3 separate regions of the Homo sapiens genome follow, and regions 1 and 3 are each linked to region 2. The links are contacts of gene promoters, found by promoter capture Hi-C in blood cells and fetal thymus (Javierre and others, 2016). All regions are on one chromosome and are shown on one strand. Each heading gives the region's core, a stretch centred on a gene start or on the middle of the fragment in contact. The rest is flanking DNA. Distances are from core to core; before and after follow the strand shown. Region 1 has its middle 12 kb from the start of TMEM14A. Region 2 holds the start of TRAM2 (translocation associated membrane protein 2). Region 3 overlaps EFHC1 (EF-hand domain containing 1).

Evidence for each region. The method cuts DNA at HindIII sites, captures the fragments that hold promoters and counts their contacts. A CHiCAGO score of 5 or more calls a contact.
Region 1: a contact is called between a fragment that was not itself captured here and the fragment with the promoter of TRAM2 in region 2, in 4 of 17 cell types (megakaryocytes, endothelial precursors, M2 macrophages and 1 more). The highest score is 12.1, in megakaryocytes.
Region 3: a fragment that was not itself captured here is called in contact with the fragment with the promoter of TRAM2 in region 2 in 1 of 17 cell types (megakaryocytes); the score reaches 6.3 in megakaryocytes.

What each region holds. Positions count from the first base shown.
Region 1 is chr6:52,657,322-52,660,227 of GRCh38, reverse strand. It overlaps the pseudogene LOC724104. Among named protein-coding and RNA genes, the nearest start is that of TMEM14A, 12 kb to the left of the region's middle. The HindIII fragment of the contact is 7,617 bases long and covers 1-2,906 here.
Region 2 is chr6:52,575,416-52,578,309 of GRCh38, reverse strand. TRAM2 (translocation associated membrane protein 2) reads left to right here and starts at 1,250. Exons shown (of 11, transcript NM_012288.4): 1 at 1,250-1,514. The coding sequence starts at 1,395. It overlaps TRAM2-AS1 (TRAM2 antisense RNA 1), which reads right to left and starts at 1,108. Exons shown (of 3, transcript NR_103446.1): 1 at 1-1,108. RefSeq lists a silencer at 678-1,537. The HindIII fragment of the contact is 3,868 bases long and covers 1-2,446 here.
Region 3 is chr6:52,461,236-52,464,503 of GRCh38, reverse strand. All of the region lies in intron 5 of EFHC1 (EF-hand domain containing 1), which reads right to left. Among named protein-coding and RNA genes, the nearest start is that of EFHC1, 43 kb to the right of the region's middle. The HindIII fragment of the contact is 1,663 bases long and covers 1,010-2,672 here.

The DNA.
Region 1 (2,906 bases), core at 307-2,806, 82 kb before region 2:
TATCCATGGAGAGTACATTCCAGGACCCCTGGTGGATGCCTGAAACTGAATAGTACTGAACCGTATTACAGTCTACTATGTTTTTTTGATCTGATAACCAAGAGGGCTACTAAGTGACTAAACAAAAGGTAGCATAGACAGCATGGATATGCTGGACAAAGGGATGATTTTCATCTCAAGTGGGCTGGAGCAGTTGGTGTGAGATTTTATCATGCTACTCAGAATGGTGCACAATTTAAAACTTATTAATTATTTCTGGAATTTTTCCATTTAATATTTTTGGACAACCATTGGCTAAAACCGCAGAAAGTGAAACTATAAATCTACTGTATTGGGATGAAGATGAAGGGGAAGGAATTGCATTATTCATGAAATGGCTTTTTAAGACATTTTTGGGGCCAGGCACGGTGGCTCACGCCTGTAATCCCAGCACTTTGGGAGGCTGAGGCAGGTGGATCATTTGAGGTCAGGAGATTGAGACCAGCATTGAGGCCAACATGGTGAAACCCCATCTCTACTAAAAATTAAAAAAAGAAAAAATTAGCCAGGTGTGGTGGCACGCACCTGTAATCCCAGCTACTGGGGAGGCTGAGGCAGGAGAATTGCTTGAACCTGGGAGGCAGAGCTTGCAGTGAGCAGAGATTGCGCCACTGCACTCCAGCCTGAACGACAGAGTGAGACTCCACCTCGAAAAATAAATAAATAAAACATTTTTGGTAAATTATTCCAGTAGCAAAGTAGTTAGTAATGTTGGCTTTTAGGCTTAAGTTTTCAATTAGTGAAGTCAGATGAATAAGAAATGTCCAAGGCCTCTCCCTCATACTGACTGAGGCTGTGGCCAAAATGTAATAGGATGCGTCTATGTTGTTCCTTTTTACAAAGATATCTCTATAAAGAGAACTTTAGGAAAACTTTTGTTTCCTTCTCTTCTTAAACATCTCAGAGGCTTCTGAGATGCTTAATTCAGTGGTTCCCAAATTTGCTGCCTGTTGGATCACCTGGACATCTTTTAAAAATACTGATGTCTGGCTCCTTCTCCCGACATTGTAATTTAATTGCTATGGGCTGCAACCTAGGTATGAGAAGTGTTTTGTTGTTGTTTTGAGACAATTTTCTCTTATCGCCTAGGCTGGAATGCAATGGCGCAATCTCGGCTCACTGCAACCTCCTTCTCCTGGATTCAAGCGGTTCTCCTGCCTCAGCCTCCCGAGTAGCTGGGATTACGGGTACCTGCCACACATCGGGCTAATTTTTGTATTTTTAGTAGAGACAGGGTTTCACTATGTTGGCCAGGCTAGTCTCAAACTCCTGACGTCAGGTGATCCCCCCTCCCCGCACCGCCTCCGCCTCCCAAAGTGCTGGGATTACAGGCATGAGCCACCATGCCCGGCTGGGGAGTGTTTTTAAAATTAATTTTTTTATATTGAGATAGTTGCAGAATTACATGCAGTTGTAAGAAATAACACAAACAGTTTCCCTCAATGGTGTTTCCCCCAATGTTAATATCTTCCAAAATTCTAATAATACAATATCACAAACAGGACATTGACTTTGATACCGTCAAGATACAGAACATTTTCATCACCACAAATATCCTTTCCTCCCGTGGGTCTTTTATAACCACACCCACTTCCCCACCCACTGCAACTTTCTCTTTATCCTCTGGTAAGCTCTCATCTGTTCTCCATTTCTATAATTTTGTCATTTCAAGAATGTTATATAAATATAATCATACCATGAGCAACCTTTAGGGATTAGCTTTGTTCACTCAGCATAATTTTCTGGAGATTCATCCAGGTCGTTGCACGTATCAGTAGTTCATTCCTTTTTATTGCTAACCAGTATTCCACGGTATGGATATGCCACAGTTTGTTTAACCATCTGAATTGTTTCCAGGTTTGGGCTATTAAGAATAAACCTGCTATAAACATTTGTATACAGATCATTTTTGTGAAGATACATTTTTATTTCCCTGAGATAAATGTCTCTGAGTGGAATTATATAACACGTACATATTTAGTTTTTTAAGACACTGCCAAACTGTTTTCCAGAGTAAGCTGTACCATTTTATATTCCTACTAGCAATGAATGAGTGATCCAGTTTCTCCACATTCTTGCCAGATTTGGTGGTGTCACTATTTTATACGTTAGCCCTTCTGCTAGGTGTGTAGTGATATTGCATCATGGTTTTCTCTTTTGTTGTGTGTGTGTGTGTGTGTGTGTGTGTGTGTTTTCCAATGGAACAGCACATTTAATTGTCCTTAGGGTCCTCCTGGAGAGGGATTGTGGGGCCTTTGGCAAAGCTCTGGCCGATGGAAGCAACAGAGATGCCAGCATTTGGAGCTGTCGCTTAAGACAATTTCTGAGACTAGTGGGTAAGGAATGTTGCCTTTGAATAGAGAAGAGGAGACTACATTTAGAAAGGGGGAGAAGTGGTTTGTGTTGTGGAGAGGGACTCTAAGGTCAAGTTAGGAATGACAGGGAGTTGGTCACAAGGTCTTTCTTGGCCAGGTGAGAGCTGTAAGTAGAGTGTGGTGATGGAGTCCAGCAGGGGAACTGTGGGCCAGCTTGACTCAGGCCGGTTTCAGGAACTCCTGCAGCATGTTTTGTTCCACAGCCTCCATGAAGAGCTCAAAGCCTCCACGGTAGTGGTCCCCATTGACAATCCGGGGTGGGGCAGCCTTGGAGTTGCCCACCAAGACTCGCATCTCATCCCTCAGGGCGTTGTCCTGGGAGATGTCCACTAGTTGGTATTAGATGCGCTTCCTATCCAGGATTCAGGTCACCTCACTCTGCTGGGACTTGATTTTGTGGGAGCCAGTGACCGATGTGCTGTAGAGGTGCAGGCTGCTCATGCTGCAGGTAGATTGACAGGCCGGAGGGCAGAGGGCAGCGGTAATGGCAGC
Region 2 (2,894 bases), core at 1-2,500:
GTTCCTCACAAGACGAAGGTTCAACTTTGAGAAAGGTCAGCCTTGAAGTTAAATGAGGTTTAGTCCAATCTAGGCATTACTTTGTCATTTCCTTGAGAGTCAGATAAGGGAATTACAGACCCAAGACTGTATTTTAAGTAAGGTGGAGTGCAGATTGAGGAAGTAAAATTTCTCTAGGAACTCCATCCTGTCTCAATTACATTCCACCGCGTGCCACTTTTAAAAAACCATATTTATTTAGAAGTGAAATAACTGTGGACCTAATAAAAAATGGAATAGGAATTAGTTTTTTTTGTTCATTACGTATTTCTGCACATCTAGAAAGTAACTGACTGCTTCATTACTGGTAGGATTAAATCCAATATTTGCGAATATAATTTATTAAGAACACCTTTTGTCCTTCCAGGAGTACTTTTAAGACTTAATATTAAATAGAAACTTTCAGTGAGAAAGTTCCTTCCTTTTTTGCTTCTTCTGTGTTTATTCTTCCACTTCTTCTGATTAATATGTAAGGTAGACTTTCGGTGAAATGTGTGTAGCTAATTAATGGTGGCATGAGGGTCCCAAAAATTACTGGGCAAAACTGCAATCATCCACCCTCTCCCCGCATTGGAGCGAAAGCTCCCCTAGGGCAGGGTCTTTCGGTTTGTTGATCTACCTGAACTGTGCCTAGCCCACTGCAAGTTCTCGATAAATACTTGAGTAATCTCCATTCACTGATCGTCCGTGCAGGGCGCTGTGGCCAGCCAGAAGGCCGGTTCGCGGCTTCCCTGCTTCCGCCGCACCCGCGCCGCCCTCAGCCCCCGGGGCCACAGCCCGCAACCCCGGGAGCATCCGGCTGCCCGGCCACCCCCGGGGCGCTCGCTGCCTCCGGGGCCTGCCCTTCCCGCGGAGGAAGGAGCGGAGCGAGGAGTGGGAAAGCTGGGCCCACTTCCTGTCCGGGCAGGCCTGGGCGCCCGCCTCCTCCGCGGCCTGCTTTCTCCACCGCGAGCGGCTGAGCCTCGGGCCCCGAGAATGCGGCCGGGCGCGGCGCTGGCGCGGGACGAGGAGGAGCCGAGCCCCGCTCGCCGCCCCCGTACGCCTCCGCCCCGGTAGCCCGCGCGTGCCCAGCGGCTAGAGGGTTAAGCCCGCGGGGGGCGGGGCCAGGCGCGCCGAGTGCGGGCCGCGGGCTGGGCGGGGGCTGGGCGGGGGCTGCGGCCGGGGGCGGTTACGGGCGGCCGGGGGCGGGCGGAGGAAGGGGGCGGGCCCCGAAGTTGTTCCGCGCTGGGCGGGCGAGCGGCTGTGGGAGAGCGGGCGGCGGGCCGGCGGGCGGACCGGGCCGGTGCTGGAGAAGTTTGCGCTGCGGTTCGTGAGCGCAGGGTGCGGGCCCCGCCGGCCGCTGCGCGCCCGCTGCCATGGCTTTCCGCAGGAGGACGAAAAGTTACCCGCTCTTCAGCCAGGAGTTCGTCATCCACAACCATGCGGACATCGGCTTCTGCCTGGTGCTCTGCGTCCTCATCGGGCTTATGTTCGAGGTGAGAGCCTGGGGAGGAGGGAGCTGGAGGGACAGTGCCCCCTGTCGTGCACCGCCCGGCACACCCCTGCAGGTCAGCGGGCCCTCCTCTGATCGGAGGCTCCTGGCTGCCGTGTACGTTATCTGCACCCCGGCTTTGTGCACTGTACCCCTCCGGCCTGTACCCCGGCCAGCCCAGACAGCACCCCCAGCTCCGCGCCGTGCCAGCCATGCCATGCTCTGCCGCCCCCTTGGGCACTCATCGTATCCTGCAGCTCTGTCTGCAGCCCTGAAACCCCAGCCTGGCCTCGAACCAACCGCCGCGCTGCCACCATGGCTTGACGCGTGGGGTTCCCTTTCTGGCGTCCAGGAGCCAAGCCCAGAGACTCCCAGACCCGCAGTCATTGCACAACCCCCTCTTGCCCCAAGGGGTGGCCACTAGCTCTTCTGGGCTTTTCCAGTGGGAGAGACCCAGAACCTTTTCCACTTCCTATGTGATTTTCTGGGTGTTTTGCATCTCAGCTCTGGAACGTGCTCGGATGTTCACGTGTGGCCCTGGCCCCATCCCAGCAGTGGCCTTCTGCTCTCGTCTCGCTCCCACTTTTTTGCTGTGCTCTAGAAGGCCAATTTTTGGATATCCTTTACCACTCCGTGAACTGTCCCTTTAGATCCATCTGCGGCGACCCAGAGCTTCACCCCCTTTACAGAGACAAGAAGAGAGACAGGGATACCCTCCACTTTTTGGGGAAAGTTGATTCTCTTATAGTGTAGGAGTGGGGGGCAGAGGATGGGGATCCCACCCCCAACAGCAATGTCCTGGTGTCGGCCTCCCAGGCAGGGAGTTGTAGAAAGCCAGCAAGGGGTCAGAATTCACAAGACTGATGGGAAGGATTCCCTACTCTTGCAGAGCAAGAAAAATGTGATATTCAAAAGTGGGAAGAACTGGAGGAAGCTTGGCATGGGTTTGTTGCGGTATATCTTGTCTCAGAAGTGAGATATGTGAGCGACATTCCCCTCACTCTCACCGTGGTCTCCTCTGGTTCCTGAGACTCCTTGTCCTCCCTTCTGCGTCAGCTTGCTTATTGCATTCTCACGGTTGGGTTAGGAAGCTGTGATCATTTACAAACTTCCTTGGAGATGGAGGATGGCTTGCCTGGCTAAATTTCCTTCCCTGTCCCTCTGTCTCGGGTTCCCTGTATCTCTACGAATGACAAGGGCCCTAATTGGCTGGCGAAGCTGCCCTCAAGCTGGGAACGTTCTTGTGGTGGCCAAGTCAGGGTTGGATGAATGAATGTGTCCGTGGCTGAGCTTTAGGGTCTGTAGGAAATAAACGGTGGTGCTAGGACTGGGGTCTCCACTCCACTTTTTGATAGTGCTCCTTTAGTTCAGTCCCTCTCTCCTT
Region 3 (3,268 bases), core at 592-3,091, 110 kb after region 2:
GCAATTACTAGTGACCATCTATATCATGTACTAGGTACACTGCTAAATACTGGGATTACGATAATTAACACTGTAGATACAATTCCTGACTTCATGGAGAAAATATTCTCTTTGGGGAGACAGACACTAAAAAATTATATAAATGATGGTTTCATTTCAGGTTGTAATCACTGCTATGAGGACAGTGTAAGCTAGTCCTGGAGACAGGGGGCAGGGACAGTCAATGAGATGATGACAATAATCCATTCATGTGGGAATAAATAATTTCCAAATGTAGAATCAATCTTGCATTTGTGGAATAATTCCATTCTTGTCTTACTGTTTCATGAGAACTAAGGATTAACTTGTTTAAGATTGATTACCTGCAGCCTGGCATCCAAGGAAATCTTAAGAGTCAATCAGTTCTAGTAGAGTGCCACATCTTATAGTTGTAACCACAAAGCTTTGGCACAGAACCCTGATCACAAGGGGGATGAAAAGTAGGCTGATGTTCTCCTAACTAGTAATTACTGAGATTGAAAAACTGGAATAAGGCTAAGTTTCTGCTATAACAGGCATAAAAGTTTGAACTCCAGCCCTTGATCATAGCAAAGGAGGGCCTGGTATTTCCCTAATAATGCATCTTATTAATAACAGCTCTATAGTCCAAGGGATCTGTCTCCCTATGTCTATTCTCAACCCTACTACCTCCCTTTGAGCTTCCCCAGGAAGTGATGGGCAATGAGGGACATAGCTTGTGATTATATTAACTTCCTTTAGTATACAATATTCCAGGAGATCTGGTATATGTGTGTGTGCTGTCCAGCCATCTGCCTTTGTTTGCTCAACAAATTATTTTTTCATATAATGCTGGATCAGGTTTACTGATATCTTGTTTAGGATTTTTGCACATATCTTCTTAAGTGAGAATGACTGTAGTTTTTCTTTCTCATGGTGACTTTGGTTTCACTGGCCTTTTTAAATGAAAGAATTAAGAAGTTCTTCTCTCTAAAAGGGTTTGTGTTAAGCTTAGAATTACCTGTTCTTTAAATGTTTGTCAAAAATCATCTGTAAGATTATCTGGATCTGCTGGATTTTTTGTGGGAAATGTTTAAACTAAATCTATTTCTTTAATGGCTGAAGATATTTGGTTTTCTATTTCTTCATAAACAAGTTATACTTTTTTAAAACTTTGCTCGTTTTGGCCGGGCACAGTGGCTCATGCCTATAATCTCAGCACTTTGGGAGGCCGAGGTGGGCGGATCAAAACCACGCTGGCTAACACGGTGAAACTCTGTCTCTACTAAAAATACAAAAAAAAAAAAAAAAATTAGCTGGGTGTGGTGGCGGGCACCTGTAGTCCCAGCTACTCGGGAGGCTGAGGCGGGAGAATGGTGTGAACCCGGGAGGCGGAGCTTGCAGTGAGCCGAGATCAGGCCACTGCACTCCAGCCTGGGCGACAGAGAGAGACTCCGTCTCAAAGACAAAAACAAACAAAACAAAACAAACAAAAACAAAACAAAAAAAACTTTACTCATTTTACCTAAGTTTTTAAATTTATTGGCATAAAGTTGTATTATTATTTTATTTTATGTTTAATGGCTATGGCACTTTAAAGAATGCTTTTTTTTTTTTTTTTGAGACAGTCTTGCCCTGTTGCCCAGCCTGGAGTGCACTGGCACAATCTCGGCTCACTGCAACCTCTGCCTTCCAGGTTCAAGCAATTCTCCTGCCTCAGCCTCCTAAGTAGCTAGGACTACAGGTGCGTGCCACCATGCTGGGCTAATTTTTGCATTTTTAGTAGAAATGGAGTTTCACACCACATTAGCCAGGCTGGTCTCGAACTCCTGACCTCAAGTGATCCGCCTGCCTTGGCCTCCCAAAGTGCTGGGATTACAGGTGTGAGCCACCATGCCCAGCCACTTCTTTCATTTTTAATATGGTGTATATGTGCCTTCTTTTGTTTATCCCTTCATAAATCTTGTCTATAGTTTGTCACTTTATTAGTCCTTTCAAGGAGATGACTTTTGACTTGACAAATCTTCTCTGTTACCTTTGTTTTCAATTTCTTTATTTTCAGCCTCTTATTTTATGATTTCCTTCTTTTAATTTCTTAATATTTTAATTTTTAAATTCTTTAGATTTCTAACTTTTTAAGAAATATGCCTAACTTATTGTCATCTTTCTTCTTTCTTAAGTAAGCATTTAAAGCTATATATTTTCCTCCAAGTACCTCTTTTTTTTAGAGTTTTAAGAGTTTTTGCTACCATTCAGTTCTAGGTATTTTCTGACAATATTTTTTTTTAACTCATGGGTTATCTGAAAATATGTTTTTCAATTTCCAAATACACGGTTTTTTTCATGTTATATTTCCAAAATTGACTTCTAACTTAATTTTGTTGAAAATTGGGTGTTGGGTAAGCATATATATATTAAATGAATAATAATATTATTCAAGTCTTATACCTGTTTATTGATTTGTCTTTTTGATCTAACAACTATTGAAAGAAATGTTTTAATGGCTCCCACTATTATGCTATATTTTTCCAGTCTCACTGAATAATGGTGCTACAGATTTTTCTTATATTTTGAATCCATGTTATTACTGCATTCAAGTTTAGAATTATTATATTTTCCTAGTAAATAAAATATTCTTGCAATAGGTAATGATCCTCTTCATCTCAATCAAAGCTTTTTGCCCAAATGTCTTTTTGTATTATACTAATATAGCTTCATCAGTTGTTTTATACCTCATCAGTTTCTTTTGCTATTTATTTTTCTTTTTAAAGATATTTGCCTATATCTTAAGTATGTTTTTAAAAACACTTTTATATATTGTTCATGGGAGGGTAAATGAGTTCAAACACCGTGGAAAGCAGTGTGGTGATTCCTCAAAGACCTAAAAACAGAACTACCCATTCGACCCAGCAATCACATTACTGGGTATATCTCCAAAGGAATATAAATCATCCTATCATAAAGAAACGCAAGTGTATGATCACTGCAGCACTATTCATAATAGCAAAGACATAGAATCAACCTAAATGCCCATCAATGACAGATTGAATAAAGAAAATGTGGTATATATACACCATGGAATACTATGCAGCCATAAAAAAGAATGAGATCATATCCTGTGCAGGAACATGGATGCAGCTGAAGGCCATTATCTTTAGCAAACTAATGCAGGAACAGAAAATCAAGTACCACGTTTCTCAATTATAAGTGGAAGCTAAATGATGAGAGCACATGGACACATAGGAGGGAACAATACACACTGGGGTCTATT